6 separate regions of the Homo sapiens genome follow, and regions 1, 2, 3, 5 and 6 are each linked to region 4. The links are contacts of gene promoters, found by promoter capture Hi-C in blood cells and fetal thymus (Javierre and others, 2016). All regions are on one chromosome and are shown on one strand. Each heading gives the region's core, a stretch centred on a gene start or on the middle of the fragment in contact. The rest is flanking DNA. Distances are from core to core; before and after follow the strand shown.

Evidence for each region. Contacts are between HindIII fragments. The CHiCAGO score rates a contact against its expected background, and 5 or more counts as called.
Region 1: a contact is called between a fragment that was not itself captured here and the fragment with the promoter of GTF2A1 in region 4, in 2 of 17 cell types (non-activated CD4 T cells and total CD4 T cells). The highest score is 11.5, in non-activated CD4 T cells.
Region 2: a fragment that was not itself captured here is called in contact with the fragment with the promoter of GTF2A1 in region 4 in 1 of 17 cell types (total CD4 T cells); the score reaches 6.2 in total CD4 T cells.
Region 3: a contact is called between a fragment that was not itself captured here and the fragment with the promoter of GTF2A1 in region 4, in 1 of 17 cell types (naive CD4 T cells). The highest score is 7.6, in naive CD4 T cells.
Region 5: a contact is called between a fragment that was not itself captured here and the fragment with the promoter of GTF2A1 in region 4, in 9 of 17 cell types (total CD4 T cells, non-activated CD4 T cells, total CD8 T cells and 6 more). The highest score is 15.1, in total CD4 T cells.
Region 6: a fragment that was not itself captured here is called in contact with the fragment with the promoter of GTF2A1 in region 4 in 1 of 17 cell types (non-activated CD4 T cells); the score reaches 5.4 in non-activated CD4 T cells.

The regions. Positions count from the first base shown.
Region 1 is chr14:77,458,313-77,462,034 of GRCh38, forward strand. AHSA1 (activator of HSP90 ATPase activity 1) reads left to right here. Exons shown (of 9, transcript NM_012111.3): 2 at 1,304-1,494. Among named protein-coding and RNA genes, the nearest start is that of AHSA1, 2.1 kb to the left of the region's middle. RefSeq lists enhancers at 1-132, 1-37. The HindIII fragment of the contact is 491 bases long and covers 1,411-1,901 here.
Region 2 is chr14:77,371,598-77,375,368 of GRCh38, forward strand. All of the region lies in intron 1 of TMED8 (transmembrane p24 trafficking protein family member 8), which reads right to left. Among named protein-coding and RNA genes, the nearest start is that of TMED8, 3.6 kb to the right of the region's middle. RefSeq lists a silencer at 860-909. The HindIII fragment of the contact is 1,828 bases long and covers 542-2,369 here.
Region 3 is chr14:77,616,782-77,620,587 of GRCh38, forward strand. No RefSeq gene overlaps it. Among named protein-coding and RNA genes, the nearest start is that of SPTLC2, 2.0 kb to the left of the region's middle. RefSeq lists an enhancer at 1-183 and a silencer at 223-282. The HindIII fragment of the contact is 1,029 bases long and covers 1,540-2,568 here.
Region 4 is chr14:81,218,724-81,222,416 of GRCh38, forward strand. It overlaps GTF2A1 (general transcription factor IIA subunit 1), which reads right to left and starts at 2,236. Exons shown (of 9, transcript NM_015859.4): 1 at 1,766-2,236. The coding sequence starts at 1,795. GTF2A1-AS1 (GTF2A1 antisense RNA 1) reads left to right here and starts at 2,495. Exons shown (of 2, transcript NR_135252.1): 1 at 2,495-2,802; 2 at 2,916-3,693. RefSeq lists enhancers at 450-958, 831-900, 941-1,030 and silencers at 1,371-1,490, 2,021-2,070, 2,101-2,400. The HindIII fragment of the contact is 3,079 bases long and covers 151-3,229 here.
Region 5 is chr14:85,938,092-85,942,268 of GRCh38, forward strand. The region is part of intron 1 of LINC02328 (long intergenic non-protein coding RNA 2328); the gene reads left to right. Among named protein-coding and RNA genes, the nearest start is that of LINC02328, 5.5 kb to the left of the region's middle. The HindIII fragment of the contact is 2,488 bases long and covers 297-2,784 here.
Region 6 is chr14:77,315,647-77,319,810 of GRCh38, forward strand. All of the region lies in intron 1 of POMT2 (protein O-mannosyltransferase 2), which reads right to left. Among named protein-coding and RNA genes, the nearest start is that of POMT2, 3.2 kb to the right of the region's middle. The HindIII fragment of the contact is 4,303 bases long and covers 1-3,971 here.

The DNA of each region.
Region 1 (3,722 bases), core at 406-2,905, 3.8 Mb before region 4:
GGGCCAGGGTTTCAGGGTTCCTAGAACCTCGGCCCGGACAGAGCTGGGGCTGAGGTAGCCCTGTCCGGAGATGGGGGTGGGTCCTTCCTGTGGCAGGGGTCCGTAGCCCCAGGCCTCTCCACTCCGCGGTCACCTTCTCAGTGTTTGAGGGGAGGGAGATGGACGTGGAGGGCTGCGCCCCAGAGGAGGGTTGTCAGAGAGACTAGGAGATAACGCCCTGGCTGCTGCATCCAGCCCGAGCAGGGAGGTGCTTATTACACGTGGCCAGAGGAGTCACTGAGACTGGAACCTCCTTTGATTGTGTTGGGAGATAGCTGTGAAAGGCCTAAGGCCAGGGGTCTGTAATTCCTATTTTGCGGCCTGCGGTAAAATTAAAAGTCATTCATAGGGGACCGCTGCAGCGGTCCCGCGGGAGATTGAGAACGTGTTGTGCAGGTGCTCAGAGCTCAGATAGCTGCGGCCTCTCACCCGGAACTATCAGGTCGGGTGTGTTGGAACTCCAGGTTGCCGAGCAGCCGTGGTTTTATAACCTGACCGTTCTTAAAATAACTGCCCTCCTTCATGAAATCTTCCCAAAGTAATATTAGTTTCCTTATTTTTGAATTCCACTGAACTTTTTTCGTAATGTTTGTATTGTACCGTTACTTTGTTGCAGCCTTTTTTGCTGTTGTTTTCTCTAATAGTTGATAAGTAGGAAGGCAGATAGTGATGTTTCTTTTCCATATCTCACTTTGTATTCTCTCTTCTTAACATGCAGAGTACTTGACCTAATTTTTGTTGTTTGTTTTGAAGCCCTGGACTTAACGTTTTTGTGGCCATCTAGGGGACAGTGAATGTGTAGGAAGTTTATAATGCAAGTGCGAATCTGATAGGTCAGAACACCGTGCCAATGAGGTCAGGGTTATTGGTTTAATCCTTTCTGGGCCTTTTAGCTAAGTACTATTCTTTCATGGTCCAGTCTGTGTTCCTGATCTCAGCAATATGTGCAGTTTTCCACTTGGTCAAATGGGGGCGCCATGTTAAAGTATCAAGTATTCCCCCGCACCATCATGCCGAGAAAGGAGAGCATAATTTTCCATTGAGTTTATACCATTTTCTACAGCAGCTGTCTTTGTTGACAGTGTGCAACCCCTTGTCTTCCTAAAAAAGAATGACATGTTTGTGGACATACTGGAGTGCGACTGGGAGTTTTTGTGTTCTTTTCAAACTATTTGTCAGGCCTCCTTTAACCTCGTATTCTCTTGCATAGAGCAGCGTATCCTCCGTTTGACTGCTGGTTCATAGCTCTGTTTCTGCTTTGCAGGACGGAGAGAGATGCTTCAAATTGGTCCACGGATAAGCTGAAAACACTGTTCCTGGCAGTGCAGGTTCAAAATGAAGAAGGCAAGTGTGAGGTGACGGAAGTGAGTAAGCTTGATGGAGAGGCATCCATTAACAATCGCAAAGGGAAACTTATCTTCTTTTATGAATGGAGCGTCAAACTAAACTGGACAGGTAAGTCTAAGCTGGGCTGTCAGAGAGATTAACTGTGTTTTGTTTAACCTGTTAAGTAGCTGGAGAGAACAGTTTTGAGGAGTTACAGACCTTGAAGGGAGAAGGCAGATGTTGCTGCTTTGGAGTCCTATGTAAAGCAGTATCGAGTCCTGGAATTTCTTTGCCATTGTGGGATGCTAAATGGATTTCCTGTGTCTGGGTCTCATAAGTCCCATCCATGAAGTGGCCGGGCCACTGCATCTTTGGGCCTTGGTCTTTGTTGGGACACCTACGATGATATTTCTTCAGACTAGCTACATGTATCTTGTGAGTGATTTAAAAGGAGGAAGGAGAGGATTTTTTTGGTCTTGATCTTTGTGCACTGTCTTCAGTGTGAATCTTAACAGATTAAACCACTGCGCTAATGAAGCTTGTGTGTGACAGTAATTTGGGGCTGTTTTATCTATCTTCTAGTTTTATGTCCCTTGTGTATGACATTAGGAAAAAATTGAGGTCATGCGTATGACCGTTTTGGACAGTCCTGACTGTCGGGAGCCTGAATGTAAAAAGGCACTAAAGCTAAGGGAGTATGAGATAGCTACTGTCTGTGTATGGGGCAAAGCATGAAATTTGTGCTTTGATAAACATTTCCGAAGTGAACAGTCATATCATAAAGAAGGGTGCAAGTAGATCTATCTGTCCATGATTTTTGTTAATTTGTTTTTAAAGTACACTCGAAGCATAGTAGTGTGGAAGGAATCTTCGGTGTCATCTTGCTCAGACCTCCTTTTTTTTTTTTTAGACAGAGTTTTGCTCGTCACCCAGGCTGGAGTGCAGTGGCACGATCTTGGCTCACTGCAACCTCCACTTCCCGGGTTTAACCAGTTCTCCTGCCTCAGCCTCCCAAGTAGGATTACAGGTGCCCGCCACCACGCCCGGCTAATTTTGTATTTTTATTAGAGATGGGTTTCACCATGTTGGCCAGGCTGGTCTCGAACTGTGTCTGGCCGACGCTTTTTTTTTTTAATATAGGGACTAAAAATTGGTAGCATAGTTTTGTGCACATTAAATGGTAAGAAATAGATAAATATAGGCCGGGCGTGGTGGCTAACGCCTGTAATCCCAGCACTTTGGGAGGCCAAGGTGGGCGGATCACGAGGTCAGGAGATCAAGACCATCCTGGCTGACACAGTGAAACCCCGTCTCTACTAAAAATACAAAAAATTAGCCCGGCGTGGTGGCATGTGCCTGTAGTCCCAGCTACTCGGGAGGCTGAGGCAGGAGAATCGCTTGAACCCAGGAGGCGGAGGTTGCAGTGAGCTGGGATCGCACCGTTGCACTCCAGCCTGGGCAACAGAGTGAGACTCCATCTCAAAAAAAATAAAAAATAGGTGAATACTACAATAAATATGGTGCTTTACCATGAAAAAGACCTGAAGTTTATTTGTGAAAGTGGGCATCAAAGCCAGGCGCGGCGGCTCACGCCTGTAATCTCAGCACTTTGGGAGACTGAGGCAGGTGGATCACGAGGTCAGGAATTGGAGACACACCTGGCCAACATGGTGAAACCCCATCTCTACTAAAAAATACAAAAATTAGCCGTGTGTAGTGGCACGCACCTGTAATCCCAGCTACTTGGGAGGCTGAAGCAGAAGAATTGCTTGAACCTGGGAGGTGGAGGTTGCAATGAGCCAAGATCATGCCACTGCAATCCAGCCTGAGCGACAGAGCAAGACTCTGTCTTGCGGGGGGAAAAGGTGGGCATCAGAAGGGTTGCAGCTTGAGGACTACTATGGAATGGTAGAAGGAGAGTCATCCACAATCAGAGGGAACATTACACTCGTTGAGGATGGGTATGGCTCACAACACACGCTGTAAACTGAGGTCATTGGCAGATAGGTGTTTGAGATGTGTGTGTTTTATGTATCCTGTGTAGCTGGGTGAGGCTTTCCGTATTCACCTAGTGTTTCTCATGGATGGAGTCACATATAAGCAAACATGAACTTCTCATTATAATCAAATTGTTCCCTAATATTTCAGTTGCACTGAAATAAATTGATATTTTCAAAACAAGTATTCTAGCAGAACTACTGGCTTTTGACCCAAGTTCTCATGGTATAACTCATGCTAGTACCAAATCTGTAGCTCTTTGTCTCACATTGTAATAACATAGTTGGTTTCCAGTAACCTGGTGAGGAAAGACATTTCTTTTGGGGGTGCGGGTGTTGATTGCATCTGGCATGTGGCAT
Region 2 (3,771 bases), core at 206-2,705, 3.8 Mb before region 4:
AGAGAGGCAGGAAGTAAGAAAAGGAGAAAGAAAAACATAACTTTATTTCCAGAAGTATAAAGTGTGGGAGATGCAGCGCTGTTTCAGTGAGAGAGAATTATGAGCACAGCCTTTTAGGTTTCCTGAAGTTCTTCAGTGAAATTTAAGCCACTATGCAGAAGAAAAAGCCAATTTTCCTATAGTATAGCTTTTATTATATTAGCCAAATATAAGCCAATTCTGAAAGTATTCCTAGAAGAGATCAGAGAAATCAGGCCAGACTTTGCAAATTTAGATGGTATGTGGGGAAATGTTTTTTATTTTTAAAAATATGTATTCTAGTATATATTAAGAAAAATGGATATATCAAACTAGTAATATCGTAGGTATTATTTAGAATGAAACTTTTAAGTGTCAATCAAAATGTCAATTAAATGTCAATGTCAAGAAAAAATAGTAAATAACTAATACTGTAACGGTATTCTCCAGTGTGGCAAAGTCATTACCATGGTTCCTCAGTGGCCGAAATCTCGGAAACAATGAACGGAGGAGGAAAAATGGAAGCTTAACAATAACTTAATTTATCATTGATGGCCACTAAAGCAAAGGTGAGAGAGAAAAAAGGAACTTCCTTAAAATAACTTATTTTATATTTGACAACTTTTTAAATGTGCATTTTCTTTCTACATTACCAAAGGGTCTGGTTTCAGACATTCTGATCATGCTAGGGATTCAAACTTACTGTGTACTTCGTACTTTCCCTACAAGGAGAACCAAAAAGCAGGTTTTTTTCAAAAGCATTTGAATATCAGGTCAGGGTTCTTTAGAACAGGCCTCAGAGGATTTCCCCCTCAGTAAACAGGCTGCAAAGAGATAATTAGCCTGTCATTTTAGATTCCAGTGCAGAAGAACTAAAAGCAGGCTATGTGGTTACAGACTCAAGAGGCTTAAACGAAAACAAATTAAGTGAGTTTATGTTCCAACCAAATCTAGTGACCATGTGATCCAATTTCTCTTCAGCCCTTGAGTGGGACATGCTCCTGAGAGGTCACTCAGATTGTGCACCTTTGGTTATACTGTTTAGACTGAATCACGACATGAATAATCAACTATCTGACTAATCGACTATCTGGACACTAAAAACACAACCACTGTAAGAAAAAGAAAGCCACAGGCAGACAAAATGTTAACATTTTGACATAAAACCACAATAGAAAACTAAAAAACATCAAGGCTGTTTGTCATTGACTCCCTATTATTCTTACCATTCAACATGGTAGCCACCAAATTTTGAATTTTAATTCATGCACATTGAAATAGCCACAGATATTATATATATATATATATATATATATATATATATATATATATATATATTTTTTTTTTTTTTTTTTTTTTTTTTTTTTTGAGACAGCGTCTCCCTCTGTCGCCCAGGCTGGAGTGCAGTGGTGCAATCTCGGCTCACTGCAACCTCTGCCTCCTGGGTTCAAGTGATTCTCCTGCCTCAGCCTCCTGAGTAGCTGGGACAGATATGAAATATTTTCATCACTGCAAAAAGACTTATTGTAATATTCTAACTTCTACCTTAGAACCATGAACAAGTTTACCTGACCTGTTTCCATCCTCAACATCTAAATGTATTGATAGCTCTGGGGGACATACACACCAAACTAAGTTCTACTGCTGACTTCAGGATCACAATAGAGTTTTATTTTCCTTTAAACTTAAAAAAAAAACAAAAACAAAAACAAAAAAACCTGCCTTTAAGTGATGCAACAAGTATGCCTCAGATAGTTTCATAATTAAAGAATGATTTATCTCTCCTCTGGGGAACTGAAGAACCCAGGTGCCTCAAATAAAAGACTATTAAAAACAATTACAATGCATAAAACAATAAGAACACCATGACCACTGGAGAGCTTAGTTCATAAGAACATAAATCCTTTCCTTCCTTTTCACCAAAACCTCAGCTAACAAACATGAAGACACTCAATAGGTATTCTCTGCAGAGAACACTTTTAAAAAACAAGTTATGGTTATTCTGGATAATGACACATTCCTGCTTTGAAGGAATAAGATACACCAAAAAACCAAAACCCTTAACTCAACAATACCTGATATGGCTTGGATGTTTGTTCCCTCCAAATCTCACGCTGAAATGTGATTTCCAATGTTAGAGGTGAGGTCTGGTGGGAGGTGACTGGATCGTGGAGATGAATCCCTCATGAATGATTTGGCATCATCCTCTTGATGATAAGTGAGTTCTCACTCAGTTAGTTCACCTGAGATATGGTTGTTTAAAAGAGTCTGGGACCTCCTCCCGTCTCTCTCTCTCTCACTCCCAACTCTCGCCATGTGACATACCTGCTCCCCCTTTCAGTATGATTCTAAGCTTCTTGAGGCCCTCACCAGAAACAGATACCAACACCACACTTCCTGTACACCCTGCAATACCATGAGCCAATTAAAACTCTTTTCTTATAAATTACTCAGTCTCAGGTATTCCAAATGGACTAACAGAACACCTGAATATCCAATTCCATTTCTTACTGCTGTTTTCTCTCTGAAAGGGTGAGAGAAATCTCATTAAATTTCATTCTTTCTTAGAGCTCTATTGCTTACTCATTGTATCATTTTCTAGAGGAAGATGGCAGAAGGATCCAATCAAACGAATTCCAAGTTTAAAGCAGTTTTTTGGGGTTTACGCCCAAGCCTCTGGTCCAGGCCAAATATAGTATTTCCACACTGCTTTGGAAGCCCAGCTTAACTCTAACACAGCGTTCCCAAAAGCAGCACCACTGACATCTGGAGCCAGATACCTCCTTGTTATGGGGATTGCCCTGTGCCTTGCAGGATGTTTAGCAAACATCCCTAGCCTATCCTCACTAGATGTCAGCAATAGCTGCCACCAGTTGTGACGAGCAAAAATGTTTCCAAACATTGCCATGCCCTGGGGATACAAAATCGTACCTGGTTGAAAACCATTGCTCTAACCCAAGGAACATTCTTGGTTATCTCAACCCTAATTCTTCACATTCATTAGATGCTCATCCAGATCTCTGCATTCAGACTTTCTCTCACCATCAAACTCAGCAAATATTTGCGAAACCTCTAAAACACAACATCAAGGGCTCTAGATAAATAAACAAGCAAGAGAGATTCCGTTCCTAACTCCAAGCAGGTTTCTTAGTAGATAAAGAATTGTAATAAAAGACGCCCAATTATATAATGTTTTGAATTGTTAATTGTTTCTCCCTGAAATGGATCTCTCATCTCATCAAACTGAAAACACCTTGAGGACAGAGACCATAACCTGTCTGCGAGTACCAATACTTGATTCATGGCCAATAAAAACAAACAATTATAGACTTCATCATAACAAGATGACAATTTCATCCAGACAGTAAAAACTTGCGCTAACTTGAACAGGTAAGTTAACCTTTCTCAGCTGTAGTTTGTTCCTCTGTAAAATGGGAAGAAAATGATTGTTGACATGACTAAATCAGAAAATATAAATTTTTTTCCACCTCTGGCACAGAATAAGCATTCAATATCTGTAGGTTATCATTACTATTATTTTATTAGCAACAAATCCTACCTCAAGAGGAAGAGCTTGCTCTGGGCTACTATAATAAACCCCTACATGACATTAAAAAAAAAAATTATCACCCTGCATTCTGAGGGTAAGAGGAAGGAAAGTAAGCATCTCTACCAATGTCCTGGGAGGAAGTGAATGCAGGAATGAATTAGATGTCAGGGGGAAAAAAAAACACACTCATCTATCTAAAACGC
Region 3 (3,806 bases), core at 804-3,303, 3.6 Mb before region 4:
GAAAAAGCGGCGGGGACCTGCCGAGAGGGATGTGGTCCTGAGGACCGCTGACCAATCTGGAAGAGAAGGAGGCGGACCCCATGCTGCTGCCTGGCCAATCACGGACGAGAGCAAAGCGCCTCGCCGGTGGAGAGGGGGCTTCTCTAGAGGGACTCCAGGGCCTGGCACCTGATTGGAGGCCGCATCCAGGTCCGGGGTAGGGCTTGCCTGTTTAATGGTCCAGACCGAGGAGGAGGCGGAGCCCAGGGAAAAGTAGCCAATTAGAGTGTGAGGAAATAAAAGGGGCTGAGCCGAAGTCTCTAGAGCGGGTTCCCAGGTTCTCCAGGACAGGTGGCGCCCTCTTTGCCCTTGCCTCGTGGGAAGTTTTGGAGTTTATGTCCTAGCCCAAGACAGGCAGCTCGCTTATTTAATTAGCTGATTCCTCTGTGAGTGTTTATAGAATAGATTTTTTGACAATCTCTCATCATTCTTCAATATGCGCCACACATTCACTATTTCTGAATTATTATAAGTAATAATTCAGATGCCTTTTCACGTGCCCTTCACATTTGCCCTTGGCAGGGTTTTCTATACAGTCTCCTTTAAATTAAGTCTTTCCTTCAAAGTTAGAAAACCTGGTCTAATTCCAACTCTGCCAATAACTGGAAGCTAAAACTTGAGCACTGTGTTTAACCACTTTAGAAGCCAAATTCTTTAAAATGGAGTTAATACTTCCTGCTTCATAGACTTACAGCAAGAATTATATCATTAACCCATTATGCACCTCTTATAATACTAGGCTTATAGTAGGAGTATAATAAATATTATTTTCTCACCCTTTTAGTTCCATCTTCCCATGGGGTTAGAAAGCAAGGAAATTGATCTACATTACAATTAGAGACTTTCTGTTATCCATAAAGAATTTAGTATCATAATTGAGAGTATGGACTCTGGAGTCGGTCTGGGTTTTAAATCCTAGCTGCGCCACTTACTAGCTGAGTGACCTCTATGTGTCTTCATCTGTTCAGTGGGGACAATAATAGTTGTCGTGAAGATTGAATAAGTTTATGTATGTAATGTATTTTGTACAGGACCTAGCAATTAGTAAGCATTCATTAAGTGTTGGTTACTAGTAATTGCTAAATGCACCTATGAGAATCCGTGCATTCTTTCCCCACCCTGCAGGAGCTTTAGAAAGGAGGTCCACAAGGTATTGGTTTTGCATGACTTAGGAGCTGAATAATCTAACAGAAGGTGGGATCATTCATCCCACACATCCTATTTGAGTTGACAAACACTATTGATCCCAAAGTGAATATACATCTGTATGTATAAGGCTAAAAAGGAAACATGTGGCTGTGCTTCATGGAGCTTACATTTCAGTGAGAGACAAGATATACACATAGAAAGAAAACAATAGTTAAAGACCAACCTAAGGCTGGAGAGATTAGGCAACAGGAGTTCTGATGAGGGAAGCTGAATGGCAGTGATGAGTCTAACCAGGTAGAAAGTTTTCAGGGCAGGAATCTGGATGGAAGCAGGGCTAAGGGATTTAACTGAAGCTTAGGGAGTGAGCTGAATGACTCTGGAGAAGGCTTGCGAGGAAGATGTGCAATGAGACAGATCTTGGAAGATGAGCGGGACTTGGAGAGCTGGAACTGAGAAGGATGGGGAGGGTGTTCTGAGGAAACCTTCAGAAACTCGGGTGTCGAGTCTAGAAAGATCAAAGCCTCACCTGCAGGCTAAGAGGAGTAAAGGAGTCTGGCTAGATTTGAGGAGTCCTGTTAGCCGATCCCTCCTCAGGGGGCTGGCCCCTTGTCTTGTTCCGCCACTTACTCACTATGTATAGTCTTGGACAAGTAATGCAAACTCAGCCCTGGTTTCCTCACTCATCTTACAAAGTGTGTACCTGTACTACTTACCTTACAGGCTTCTGTGAGCATCAGTGATATACAGATGATCTGATTACTTCACATGCCATTGCTAAATCACAAAAATGATGCTGCAGTAGGCAGTAGGAAACACCCCAGACTCCATGTAAACAGGAAAACAACTCCTTCCAGAAACATAAGCCGCTTAATCATCATTTTACAGTGTTCATATGCAAAGTTCTGTGCTAGGCACCAGGAAGACAACCCTTCTCTTCCTTCAAGATTGCTCAAACCACTTCAACTGTGAAGCCTGTTTTGAACCCCAACCTCCCCACAAAATTAGTTGCTTTCTCCTCTGTGAGCTTTATACACACCTGTGTAAGCATGTATCACACTGCTTTGAGATTCTTTGAGAGGGAGGTTACACAATGCTTAGAAGCAAGAGCTCTGCAGTCAGATATACCATAATTGAAGACCGGTTTCAGCACCTAGAATCCTTATGATTTAGGCAAAGCTGCCTAACCTCTCTATGACTCAGGTACTTCTTCTGTAAAATGGGATATACCTCATAGAGTTGGAGAATTAACAAAAGCATTTAGTGCCAAGACCTGTTACATAATATTAAATGAGTGTTGGTAATTATTCATTGGATAAATGAAGTACTTATTAAGTGAATGAATGATTGATTGAATACATTTATACTTACAATTAGGCAACAAGCTTGGTGAGTTGAGGGGATTGTCTAATTTATCTTTGGGTTCCCAGTACCTACCACGTGTCTGTCACATAGCAAATGCTCAATAAATGTTTGATGAATGCATAAATGGATAAATGAATTAAAATTTGGCCTTGGCTGGACATGGTGGCTCACACTTGTAATCTCAGCACTTTGGGAGGCCGAGGTAGATGGATCACGTGAGGCCAGGAGTTCGAGACCAGCCTGACCAACATGGTGAAACCCCGTCTCTCCAGAAAATACAAAAATTAGCCGGGCGTAGTGGCACATGCCTGTAATCTCAGCTACTTGGAGGCTGAGGCACAAGACTTGCTTGAACTTGGGAGGCAGAGGTTACAGTGAGCCGAGATTGTGCCACTGCACTTTAGCCTGGGTGACAGAGAGAGACTCTGTCTCAAAAAAAAAAAAAAAAAAAAATTTTGGCCTTGTCTCCAAGGAACCTTCTATCACATGGAGACTGTGTTAATTGAGGTTCTTTGGTTGCAGATAACATAAGCCAATTTTAAAAAACTTATTCAAGAAAGGTAAATTTATTGGAACTCTCCTGAAGACAGGGAAGTGTTGGCACTCAGGAAAATCCTAAACCTCAGCAGCAGAAAATTATAGACCTTCCTTCCTCCTAACCAAACCACTTCTGGTGCTTAGCTCTCAACAACCTACAACTTTCATATTCATGAGGTCAAACTTCTACACTCTCAGGAAAAAGAAATCTGATTGGCCTAGCTTATGGTGAGGATGGGTAAATCTGACCAATCGCAATGGCCAGAGCACAAGGTCAAACTGCTGGAGGGGAGGAATCAGTTATAGACAAGGAAGAATCATAGCAGAGAAGGGAGGAACAACCCTAACAGTGTTCACTACAAGGAGATAGAACCCGGGAGTGAAAAGGACAAATAGCAATAGCTTAGAATGGATGTTAAAGAAGGAGGCTGGCGGGTGCAGTGGCTCACACCTATAATCCCAGCACTTTGGGAGGCCGAGGGGGTCGGATCACCTGAGGTCAGGAGCTCGAGACCAGACTGGCGAACATGGTGAAACCCCCATCTCTACTAAAAATACAAAAATATTATCCAGCGTGGTGGCGGGCGGGAGGCTGAGGCAGGAGAATCGCTTGAACCCGCGAGGTGGAGGTTGCAGTGAGCCGAGATCGCGCCATTGCACTCCAGCCTGGGCAATAAGAGCAAAACTCCGTCTCAAAAACAAAAACAAACAAACAAAAA
Region 4 (3,693 bases), core at 986-3,485:
TGGAAAATAAATTGGAATAATTTTTATACCGGATACCCATGTTAATATCCAAGGCAATAAAGTTCTACTTAGATTTTTTTTTAATCTAGTTTGCAGTCTGTCTCTTCCCTCTACTCACGATTCTCCTACACATAAATGGTCCTATACTGAAGCTTTAGGTACTTATCTATTTCTCTGAAAAGCCTCGTGTCTTTTATATTTACTATAGGAAAACATAATGAAATATTAGGAGCTATATTTCTAACATTATTTCCTGAATACTTGAACAAAACACTACCAAAACCAAGTCCTCTGCAGCTAACATTTTCCATGTAGAAAGCAGTTTTTTAAATTCCCGAAAATAATGCACATAAGAAAAATGGCTAGACCATCTGATCTAAAACTCTTTGTTTTAAATAATTAATTTTGAAAATTGTAAACAAAAAGGGACAGCGATTCGGATATATTCCCCCTAGCAAACAAAGAAGGCAAATCCTAGCTGCTGCTGGGAACAAAACCAAAACTTGGGGCTCTGAAAGCAGCCCGCGACGGGTGCGAAATCACAGGGTGAAAAAAGGACCTAGAAATAAACTGAGCTCTGCACACGCCTGGCTCTTGCCTCGGGAGCACGCACCTCCCAGCCCCGCTCTCAGCAGCTCTCACTATTTAAAGCCGGATCTGGTGTTTAAATGGAGAGGCGGTGACGTAGGCCTGAAAAGCACCTTCCCATCCTGGCAGAGTCTATATTAGAGAGCGGCAATGGCTCTATATAAACAGGGCAGCCAAAGGGAGGAGGACCACAAGGCTCAGGGACTGAAAAGCAGGGTAAGCGGCCGCAGCCATGATGGTTAGACCCGAGTCGCCAACGGTACGGTGTCGGGCGGCCGCGGGCTGGTCTGCGGCATTTGGGACCGGGCAAAAAACGTGTTTTATTGTCATCATAAAAATAAGAGTTGGGTGGACTAGTGATCACACTGCGTTGGTGACTGAAAAGGTTATTTATGTGACTGCTTTTTGCAAACCTACGTGATCGCAAGTAACAAAAAGGGACCAACGGGAAGAAGTAGGTAAATTTCAAGGCGAAAGCGGGGACACTTGGACCACTGCAGGCTTTTTTTGTTTGTTTTGGTGCTTCTGCTAGGCGAAGATACGATGGGGGTCTTCCCCTTCGCCATTTTACCCATTCGGAAGGAACTGAGATAAGTGCTTTTCAACCAACCTTCGTCCTTTTTTTAAACATAAAATGGCCTCAGAGAAGGTTCCCAAAGCACAGCCGCCAAAAACAACCTAAGAAACCCCCAAAGTAACCATTAATCTTCCACTGCATTAAAGTGGATCACGATGGGTCTCGGGGGTTCGCCCGATTCCCCACACACAGTTTTTGTTCTGTAGCCACTCGGGGAGCCCTCGTCAAGCCAGCGCGGACGGGCCCCTCGGGGGGAAGCGGCGGCTCCCCTCCCGCCCTCCCTCCCGGCGGCCGGGTTCTGGGGCCGGGGCTGCGCGCCCGACCGGGCCCAACCGCCTCCGCGGCCCGGCCCGGCCCGCGGCGGCCCCAGGCCCCACCGGCGCCCCCGCCCTCCCCGCGCCGCGAGCCCTCGGCGCCCCCCCGCGCCCGCCGCCCGGCGCTCCGGCCCGATCCGCCCGAGGCGGGAAGCGGCGGCGGCGGCGGCCGCGCGGGCGGCTGAAGAGTCGAGGCCGGGAGTCGCCGCCGTCCCCGCCCCCGCCCGGTCCGGCCGTTGCTGCAGCCTGAACGAAGCCCCCGCCGGCCACCGAACCACGTCCTTACCACGGTGTTTGTATTTGCCGAGTTCGCCATTTCCACACACAACACAAACAAGAGGGGGCAACCCCAAGAAAACAAGATAAAAACAAAACCAAAAAAAAAAAAACTATAACACCCGGAGGGTGACCCAAATCACCGCAAGATTGGGGAAAAAATTTTAAACAAAATCAATCCTGAAGGAGTAGGGGAGAGCGGAGAGAGGAGGAGGAGGGGGGCACTCCTCCCGCAGCTGAAAACCTCGAGAATCGCCTTAAAAAAAAAAAAAAAGCCACGACCCTTCAGGGGTCCGGGGGGCGTTGCCCGCTCCCCACCCCGCGCCAAGGAGGGAAACCACCACCGGTCACCGCTCCCTGCGCCGCCGCTGCCGCCACCGGCTGCAGCTCCAGCCGTCCGGTCCGCCCGCTTCTCTCCTTTATATAGCGAGCCAACAAGCTGCGCGAGCCACCACCGCCGCCGCCGCCGCCGCCGAGAGACAGGGTGAAGGGGGAGGGAGGGGCGGAAAGGGCGGGGGCAGAGGTGGGCGGGGCTGAGCGCGAGACACCGCGAGAGCCGCGTGCGCAGGCGCGCCGGGGCGGAGGCCGCCGGCGAGCCGCGTTGTCACGCGCCGTGGCGGGTACTGGACTGGCGGAGCCCGGGGAGTGAAGTAGTGAAATCGGACCTACGCCTCTCCAACGCTCGCGTGATCACGTGGTTGGCACCCAGGCGGAAGTCTGCGGCAGTTCTTTGCGGTGAAGAACTTGCAAAGCGTTGCTGGAAAAGACGGGAGTTCTACTGACACTCCAGTCCAAAGCTAGGTGGGACCGCCTCCTGTCGCACGTTTCCGCCTGGTCCCGCGCTTTAGGAGCTAGGAAATGTGACAGAGGCGGTGCCTACTGCCTCGCTAGGAATGGCCGCGGAGGAGGACTGGTCACGTGGCGTGGCTTCCGGCCTCTGGCGCGTTCCTATTCGGGAAGGTTTTAAATGCGGAGTCATCTCTTGATTTGTCAGCGAGGCTTTGACTGTGAGCTTCGCGGCGTTCGCGCCTCACCGCCTCACCGAGGGTGGGTCTTTCGCGCGCAGAATTGTGTAGGATTTTCCAAAGGGAGTAAAAGCCGATCGGGGCCTACTTTTAACATTCCACAATTAGTAACGTCTGATTCGTTTGTTTCCACAGTGGGTACGCTGCGAAGACTAGGCTTATGTTACCCAGAGGTTAGTCCTCTACTAGGCCACGTACTTTAAATAATTTATCACGCTAGTGGAAATGCGGGGTGGAAGAAAACCCCACCAGCCTTTGGATTGTAACAGCACAGTAACTTTCCCTGGTTTTTAAAAATATTGCCAAAATACTGCGACTCCATGTGGCCAACGTATAGTGACTGATCACTTTGAAATGCATGCCCTTGACCCACCAACTCGCATGGCCTCTCGCTATAAGAGAGCAAGCCGGCTGTGTTCCATGTTCAATTCAATAAGTGCAATTCAATAAGCTTTTGACTTGTTCTGCCCAAGCAAATCCTGCCTTTATATCGACCTTGCAAGCAGAACAGAGAATGCTGTTTGGAAGGCAGAATTCATAGTACCTAGTTTTCTTGTCCCTGGGAATTTTGAGGGACTTGAAATGTCGCGTGGATGAGTGAGGGAGTTTGTCTTCCAGAGACAAAGCAAAACGAAACGTCAAAGTTCTGTGCTGGTGAAACCAGATTTGAAGAATATCAAAGGCGTCTTACCAAAGAGGAAAAAAAATGCATCTTGCCAAGACTTGAAGAAAGGGATTAGAGAAACCAGAGGCCTTGAATACTCAGAAAATGGGAGATTGTGAATGGGTGTAGAGGATATCTATGAACCTTGACATTTCTTTTCACGCCAAGTCCATTCCCCTGTTAACAGTTGCTTCCCAGTTTCCTGCACAGCTGCATGGTCTGGGACACTTAAAGAAAAAAATCACAGGA
Region 5 (4,177 bases), core at 291-2,790, 4.7 Mb after region 4:
CTTGGTAAATTGGCCCTGTCTAGGCAGTGGGCAAGATGAACCCAATGGGAAGTTATAAATTCATTTGAATATATGTTTGGGCCTATTTATAGGCTCTCTGTTTTGTTCCACTGATCTATGTGGTTTTTTTTTGGTGAGGTGAGGTCAATGCTATGTGGTCTTAATCATTGTAGCTTTACAGTAAGTCTTAAAATAAGATAGTGTGAATCCTCAACATTATTCCTCTGTTCCTGCAGGATTGTGTTGGTTATTCTGGATCTTCTGCCTTTTAATTTTTCCTATAGAGGCAAAAGGAAAGCTTCTCTTCTGCTCTCTGAGGATTTGCTGCTGAAAAAAACTGACAATAGATAGATTAACAAAAGAAAGTCATATAACTCTATTAATGTGCAGAAGCATGGGAGCCATGGAAAATATGAGTCTCAAAGAAGGGCCAGATGGCTGCAGCTTAAATAACACTCTTCATAGGGGAGAGGGAGATGGGAGTGCAGGCAATTTAGAGTATAGGCAATGATGTTTAGAGAAATGAATTAGCCTAAAAAAAGACAAAGTTCTTTTGAGATCTGGGCGAGGTGGTGGCAAGTTATGAGAAGGTGATGAGATGTTCACCATGAACAAAATTTGTCTTATTATGCAGATAGTGTCCCTGGTAATCTCTTGGAGCTTCCCTCAGAAGTCTAGATGAAAAATCTCTCTGAGCGTGGTGATGACTTCAGATCTAGTCTCTTCTCCAGTGGTTAATCTTTCCCTGTTTTCTGTTGAAATTTCTAGGAAGTGTGTTTTAAGACAATTTCATGACTTCTGGAGGAACTTTTTTAATCAGATAAGGGAACTTGAGAGAAGGGTTTTCCTGAGGCTTCAATAAAGGAAGGGGTAAGGGGGGGCAGAGATTAAAGAGAGGCCATGGTCCTGAGGCTTATTTCTGAGGCCTTTCAACATTTTTTTTTTCAAAGCACTCAGCATGCCAAACTGCCATATTTTGGGTTGTCATTTTCTGAACCCCAATAAAACTTTAGAATCAGCTTATCAATATCTCCAAAATAGTGTACTAAGATTTTCTTTGAGATTCAATTGAATCACTTGAGAGAGTTTGGAAGAATTGTCATCTTAAGAATATTGAATCTTGGCTAGGCGTGGTAGCTCACACCTGTAATCTCAACACTTCGGGAGGCTGAGGCGGGCAGATCACGGGGTCAGGAGTTCGAGTCCAGCCTGACCAACATGGTGAAACCCTGTCTCTACTAAAAAAATACAAATTATCTGGGCATGGTGGTGGCTGCGTGTAATCCCAGCTACTCAGGAGGCTGAGGCAGGAGAATCGCTTGAACCTGGGAAGTGGAGGTTGCAGTGAACCGAGGTCACGCCATTGCATACCAGCCTAGGTGACAGAGTGAACCTCTGTCTCAAGAGAAAAAAAAAAAAAGGGAATATTGAATCTTTAAACTTGTAAATACGAGGCATCTCTCCATATATTTACACAACTCTTTGATTTTTTCATCATTGTTTTGTGTTTTTTGGTCTATAGATCCTAAATATATATGTATGGTTATATTTGTATGTGAATACTTCATTGTTTCAGTTTGGGGGAGGCTATAATAAATGCCTCTTTTTAAAAAAAATTATAAATCCCAATTGTTCTTTGCTTGTATGTAAACATGGACTTGACGTTTGTGTAATAACCTTGCATCTTGTGAACTTCTATAATTGCCTATTAATTCTCACTGCAGCCTCCGCCTTTGGGTTCAAACAAATCTCTTGCCTCAGCTTCCTGAGTAGCTGAGAGTACAGGCGCATGCCACCAAGCCTGGATAACTTTTGTATTTTTAACAGAGATGGGATTTCACCAGGTTGGCCAGTTTGGTCTCGAACTCCTGACCTCAGGTGATCCACCTGCCTCGGCCTTCCAAATTGCTGGGATTACAAGCGTGAGCCACTGAGCCCAGCCACTTGCCTATTTATTCTAAGTTGCTGCTGTTCATAGTTGCTTTGATTTTCCACATAGAAAATCATGTCATCTGTGTATTAAGACAGTTTTATTTCTTTTTTTCCAATTTGTATACCTTTTATTTATTTTTCTTACTCTTTTGTATCAATTAGTATTTCCAATACAAAATTGAAAAGTAATGACAAAACATCCTTGTCTGTTCCTGATCTTAAGGAAAAATTTTCCAGACACCCACCACAAAGTATGATGCTAGCGGTAGGAGGTTTTGTAATTTTAAAACACCAAATTAAGGAAGGCCCTCTCTATTCCTACTTTGATGTGTGTTTTCATGCTGAATGGGCATGGATTCTGTCACATAATTTTTTCGTTTCAATTGATACAGGCACATAATTTTTCTGGGTCTGTTACATTAGTTGATTTTTTTGAATGTGAGTTAACCTTGCATACTTGAAATAAACTTTCTGGGTTGTAGTGTATTACTGTTTTTATACATTCTCTTCAATTTGTTATTATTTAGTTGAGAAATTTTGCTTCTGTTCTTAAAGGATATTGGTCAGTAGTTTTCTTTTCTCTTAATGTCTTTATCTGCTTTTGGTAGGAGGGAAATGCTGATATTATGTAATAAGTTAGGAAGTGGCCCTTCTGTTTCTGTTGTGGAGAAACGGCATTATTTGTTTCCTAAGTGTTTGGTAGAATTCATTAACTGAAACCATCTGTTTCTCAGGCTTTCTTTTTTTAAAGTTATGAAATATTGATTGAATTTATTTAATAAATACAGGACAATTCTCATTTTCCTTTGTATAAATTTTGATAGTTTGTCTTTCAGGAGGTTTAGCTATTTAAGCTTTGTTATCAAATATGTTAGCATAACATTGTTCATTATAATCTTTTTTTTATTCTTTTCATGTCCATGGGTTCAGTAGTAATGACTCTTTTATTTCTGATATTGATAATTTCTGTCTTCTCTTTTTTATCTTGGTTAGCCTGGCTATAATTTTGTCAACTTTACTGAACTTTGCAAAGAAAAATATTTTGGTTTGTTTGATTTTTATCTATTATTTCTCTCCTTTTGATTTCTGTTACTTCTGCTCTAATCTTTATTAATTCTTTTATTCTGCTTGTTTTAGGTTAAGTTGCCCTTATTTCTATGGTTTCTTATAGTAGAAAGGTTATTGATTGTAGATATTTCCTCTATTCCAAGATATGCATTTAATTCTATGAATTTTGAAGCACTATTTTCACTGCATTCTCAAGTTTAATAATTGCATTTTAATTTTCCTTTATTTTAAACTATGTAAATGTTCTCTTGAGACTTTTTATTTGACCCATATGGTATTTAGAAGTATATTATATAATTTTCAGATACTTGGAAATTTCTCAGCTAAATTTCTGTTATTGACTTGTAGTTTTGACTGCACCTGTTATCTAAGATTAAACTTCATATTATTCTTATTTTTTAATAAGTATTTTTGATTCTTCTTTCCATTCCTTATGATGTTGCTAGCATTCATTTCTTTTATTCATATGCTTGAATCACCAAATAAATTGTTATTATTACTTTAAACAAATAGTTACTTTTTTGGTCATTTAAGAAAAAGTAAAACAAAATATTTTATTTTATCTTTATTTATTTATTCCTATCTTTTCTAGATACACATTTCTGACATAGCATTTCCTTCTGTTTGAAGAACATCTTTTAACATTTCATGCAGGAAGTTCTGCTGCCAATAAAATTCTTTATTTCTTCTTCACTCTTCAAGGATAATTTTGCTGATTATAGAATTTTAGTTTGGTAGTTTCTTTAAATATTTTAAGTATTTCACTTTACCCTCTTCTTGCTTGTGTGATTTTCGATAAGCCTGCTTTTATCCTTAAAATTGTTCCTCTATAGGTAAGTTTTTTGTTTTTGTTTTAGATCTGGCTACTTTCAAGTTGTTCTTCCTATCTTTAGTTTTCTGCAGTTTGAATTTTATATGCTTTGGAGGAGTGTGTATGTGTGTGTGTGTGTGTGTGTGTGTGTGTGTGTGTGTGTGCATTTATTTATTTATTTTTCCTGCTTTTTGTTTTTTGAATGTCCTTGATTTGTGGCTTAGTGTTTGCCGTTAATGTTTTAGATTTCTTGGTCATTATTACTTCAAATCTTATTCCTTCATTCTCTTTCTTTTCCTTCAAATAATATGCATATGATGCCTTTTAAAATTATACTGCAATTTATTTTTAGCTTGTTTTTGGTTT
Region 6 (4,164 bases), core at 570-3,069, 3.9 Mb before region 4:
TCCTCTCCTGGTGGTCCAGAAGAAAAAAATCTACATCCCTGGAAGGGAAAGGAAATAAATCACAGGCTTAAAAACTTCGTGGCGGCTGGGTGCAGTGGCTCATGCCTGTAATCCCAACCCTTTGGGAGGCCGAGGCGGGCGGATCACCTGAGGTCAGGAGTTTGAGACCAGCCTGGCCAACATGGTGAAACCCTGTCTCTACTAAAAATACAAAAAGGTAGCCAGGCGTGATAGGGGCGCCTGTAATCCCAGCTACTCGGGAGGCTAAGGCAGAGAATTGCTTGAAGCCAGGAGGCAGAGGTTGCAGTGAGCTGAAATTGCGCCACTGCACTCCAGCCTGGGCGACAGAGCGAGAATCTCAAAAAACAAAAACAAACAAACAAAAAACAACTTTGTGGCTGCTGGAGTACTGAGAGCCATGCACCAGAATCACAGTGCCACCTGCTGGACATAGGTACCAAGCACACCCTTTTTAAAAGGACAGCTATTAACTCCTTAGTTAACTACTCAACACTTTGAAATTGATTGCCAGACCCATAAAGGCCTCAGGACTCCCTGGCCTAGTATTCCCACTTTGGGGTGGGTCAATGGGAATCTACTGATAACAAGGGAAGGGTTTAACAAGCCTCACTGATCCTATGGAAATAGTACATTCAAGAGTACAGCTGGTAATCCCAGCTATTCAGGAGGCTGAGGCAGGAGGATGGCTTGAGGTCAGGAGTTCAAGACCAGCCTTGGCAGGATAGTGAGAACTCAGCTCTTAAAAAATCTGTTTTAATTAGCTGGACATGGTGGCACGTGCCTGTAGTGCCAGCTACTCAGGAGGCTGAGACAGGAGGAGCCCAGGAGTTTGAGGATGCAGTGAGCTATGATTGTACCACTCCACTCCAGACTGGGCAACAGAGTCAGATCTCATCTCTAAAAAAAAAAAAAAAAAAAAAAAAGAGTATAGCTAGCCTGGCCCTAGAGGCATCTTGGTTTTACGTGAAGAAGTGGCAGCTCCCACTCTGGGAGAAACAACCTTCTCTGCTACCTGAAGCCGAGCTGCTGTTCAGTAGGGCCCTTGATTCACAGGGGTTCCTGTAAATGCTTAGGCCTGGCTCACCAATGATTAGGCTGAGTTAAAAGCTGATGTTGCCCACCAAGCAGCAGCAGGCACTTAGCCCCAATGATAACTCTGGATGGCTGATGGCAGTAAGGATTGAAGCATTTGGTATGCCACTTGGAAGACTAAATACTGAGAGATGAAAGCTGAGAAGTGTGGAAACACATCATGGCTGCCTGCCAATAGGACAGACTGGATCACTCACGTAGGTGCCCACACTAAGGGCAGGTACTCTCGTAAGACTGACTGGAATCAAACTGCTGATCCAGCCTGCACCACCAAGACTGCTGCCATAGCCACCTGGATTCATGCAACCGGTGTGGAAACATCTACCATCATGGGCTAGGCACAACGTAAGGGACTACATGTTTCTGAGGCAGAAGCCACCACTGCGTGCCAGACTTGTGACTCCTGCCAAAAGTTGGCCTGCTTGTCTTGCAGTAAAGGAAGCCACATTGCAAGGGGCACTGACCACACCTGCTCCTGGGAGATTGACATTAGGACTTTGTTCCCTTCTCTAGGCTCTCATCAGTACCTTGCTACTGCTGATACTTTTTCAGTTTACAGTGCTGATGTTGCTTTTCCAGTCCAATTATCTGACTCTGTGTATACCACTGTGGCCCTTGAAACTAAACTGCCAGGTTTTCTGCTTTCCAAACCATCTACAGTCTGACACTGGCATATCTTTTTGTCGCAATGGCCACCCAACAGTGTCAACAGTCAATAGCCAAGGTATTCGATGGACCTCCCACACTCCCTACCATCCACAGGCATGACATTGTCAAGTACTGAACAGTTCCCTCAAAGATCAACTCAAAAAGATTTTTGATTCTATGTTTTTAACCTCCTCCTGGTCTGCAAACCTTACTGAAGCAGTTTGGTCACCTAAGGCAGCCATTCTCAGAAATGGGTCATCTCCTTTTGCCTACCAACTGGGTAATGATCAGGAAAAAGGGGTGGAGGGTTATATAAACCTATTTTGAAAATGTGAGATTCTCCCCTGACCATTTCTGGCCATGATTCATCTTTCTTCCCCCTTACAGAAAGCCCAGATCAGCTGGGAGGAGGAGGCTATCTATGTAATTCAGACTTAATTCTAGTTCAGTCACTAGATTGTCTTGTTGGAATGGCCTGGTGCCAGAACATAAAGTTAATGATCATTTGGTTGGGTATAGTGCTTTTAAAGTCCCCCTACAGTGGCCCACATGTGTCAAGGTAGAAGACATAATGGGCCTCTGTCAATTTTCTAACAATTGGATATTAGAAGGCCTGCGTATTGGTAGGGGATAAATGGAGAAAAGGTGAAGTTATAGTTACTAGGGTAGGACACACTCATTATGTAGCAATGGAAGGAAAGAAACAATCCTGGCATCTGGGGAAGGAACACCACAGGACCCTGGAGATGTAAAGAGAAGGGAAACAATGTTCTCTTTGTCCCTATCCAGCACCAAAGCCTGGCAAACATTCACATGGTCCATCTAGGTCAAGCAGCAACTGTGGCTGGCAATCTGACCTGTGGCTGAGTTTGTCATCTCACTATGAAAACATAAAAACTTTATCTAGCAGGTCAGTATAAAAAAGAAAATAAAAAAAGAAAACAAAAACTCACATGGACACGGCCAGTCTTGAACTATTCCCACGTGCCTGATGACATCAACACCAACTCCCAAACGCAGACCTCCCTCATAGGTGTGCAAACACACAGATCAGCACCACCTTCTATCAATGCGGCTGATACAAATCACATGCTTCTCCTGAGATCCTAAGGGCCTTACTTAGGTTATGCCTTGTCTAGTGATTGAGGCTGCAACTGTTCAGTGACACTGCCCATGTGGTTTAAACCACTGTAATGGTAATCAAATTTGATGGTGATCCAAATAAAAATCTAACAAAAATCCTGGAGTGGCCTGCACTCCTCCAAGTAATATGTTAGTGTAAGGAAGAATGGGTCACAAAATATCTTTCCATTAATCATGGTAGTTAATTTTTTTTTTTTTTTTTTGAGACAGAGTCTGGCTTTGTCGCCTAGGCTGGAATGCAATGGTGCGATCTTAGCTCACTGCAACCTCTGCTTCCCAGGTTCAAGTGATTCTCCCACCTCAGCCTCCCGAGTAGCTGGGATTACAGGCACCCGCCATCATGCCCGGCTAAGTCTTGTATTTTCAGTTGAGACGGAGTTTCACCATGTTGGCCAGGTTGGTCTCGAACTCCTGACCTCAGGTGATCTGCCCGCCTCGGCCTCCCAAACTGCCGGGATTACAGGTGTGAGCCACTGCGCCCAGCCTGGTAATTACTTTCTTAAAAAAATTTTTACAAGGGTAGTGGGCTATTGTAATTACTGGTAATGACACCAAAGATCAGAGATCAATCTGAACCCCTGTGCACAGGTCACAGTGGTTAATAGACTGGTCTTAGACTGCAGCCCAGATGTCTGAAATAAGATTCCTCGGTGCCCCCAGGACTTATTCACAAGTGGCTGAATCCAGGACCCTGGAGGGCATGGTTGAGGTAAATACTGTAAGCTGGCCTTATTCTGCTGCTTAGAGTCCCATTGACAACAACCTTAATTAAATGCTGTAAGGGACAAACTGAAAAGATGTGAGTAGCCAGGGGAGTTGTATATTCATGTGAAAATCTGCTAGAAGCCAAGACCATAGAATCGAGGAGTGAGAGAGGCTGTCAGATTGCTCGTGCCTCTACACATCATTCTGGGTATACCAAGAATGCAAGGCCCTGACTGCATCTCACCTGGGCCATTTCTCATGGTTGTGTTTGCAGCAAGCAACTTTGAGAGAAGAGGCAGTGTCTCCCTCCAGGACAAAGAGGAGGTCTGCGTACTGCCTTCTATAAAACAGCAGATTTTCCAAGCTTGTCGTTCCTTCACTTGGATGCAACCCACTGCCTGTGCAGTCATCCATTTAAACCCATAGCGTCACCCTGTGGGACTTGGATGGCAAGGGAAACTGCTTCTAACATGCATCCTATTTCCTGTAATAAAGTCCTTTGTCTCTAACCCAGGAGTCTCATCTTCTGCCAGCAGTCACGACACAATAACAAGC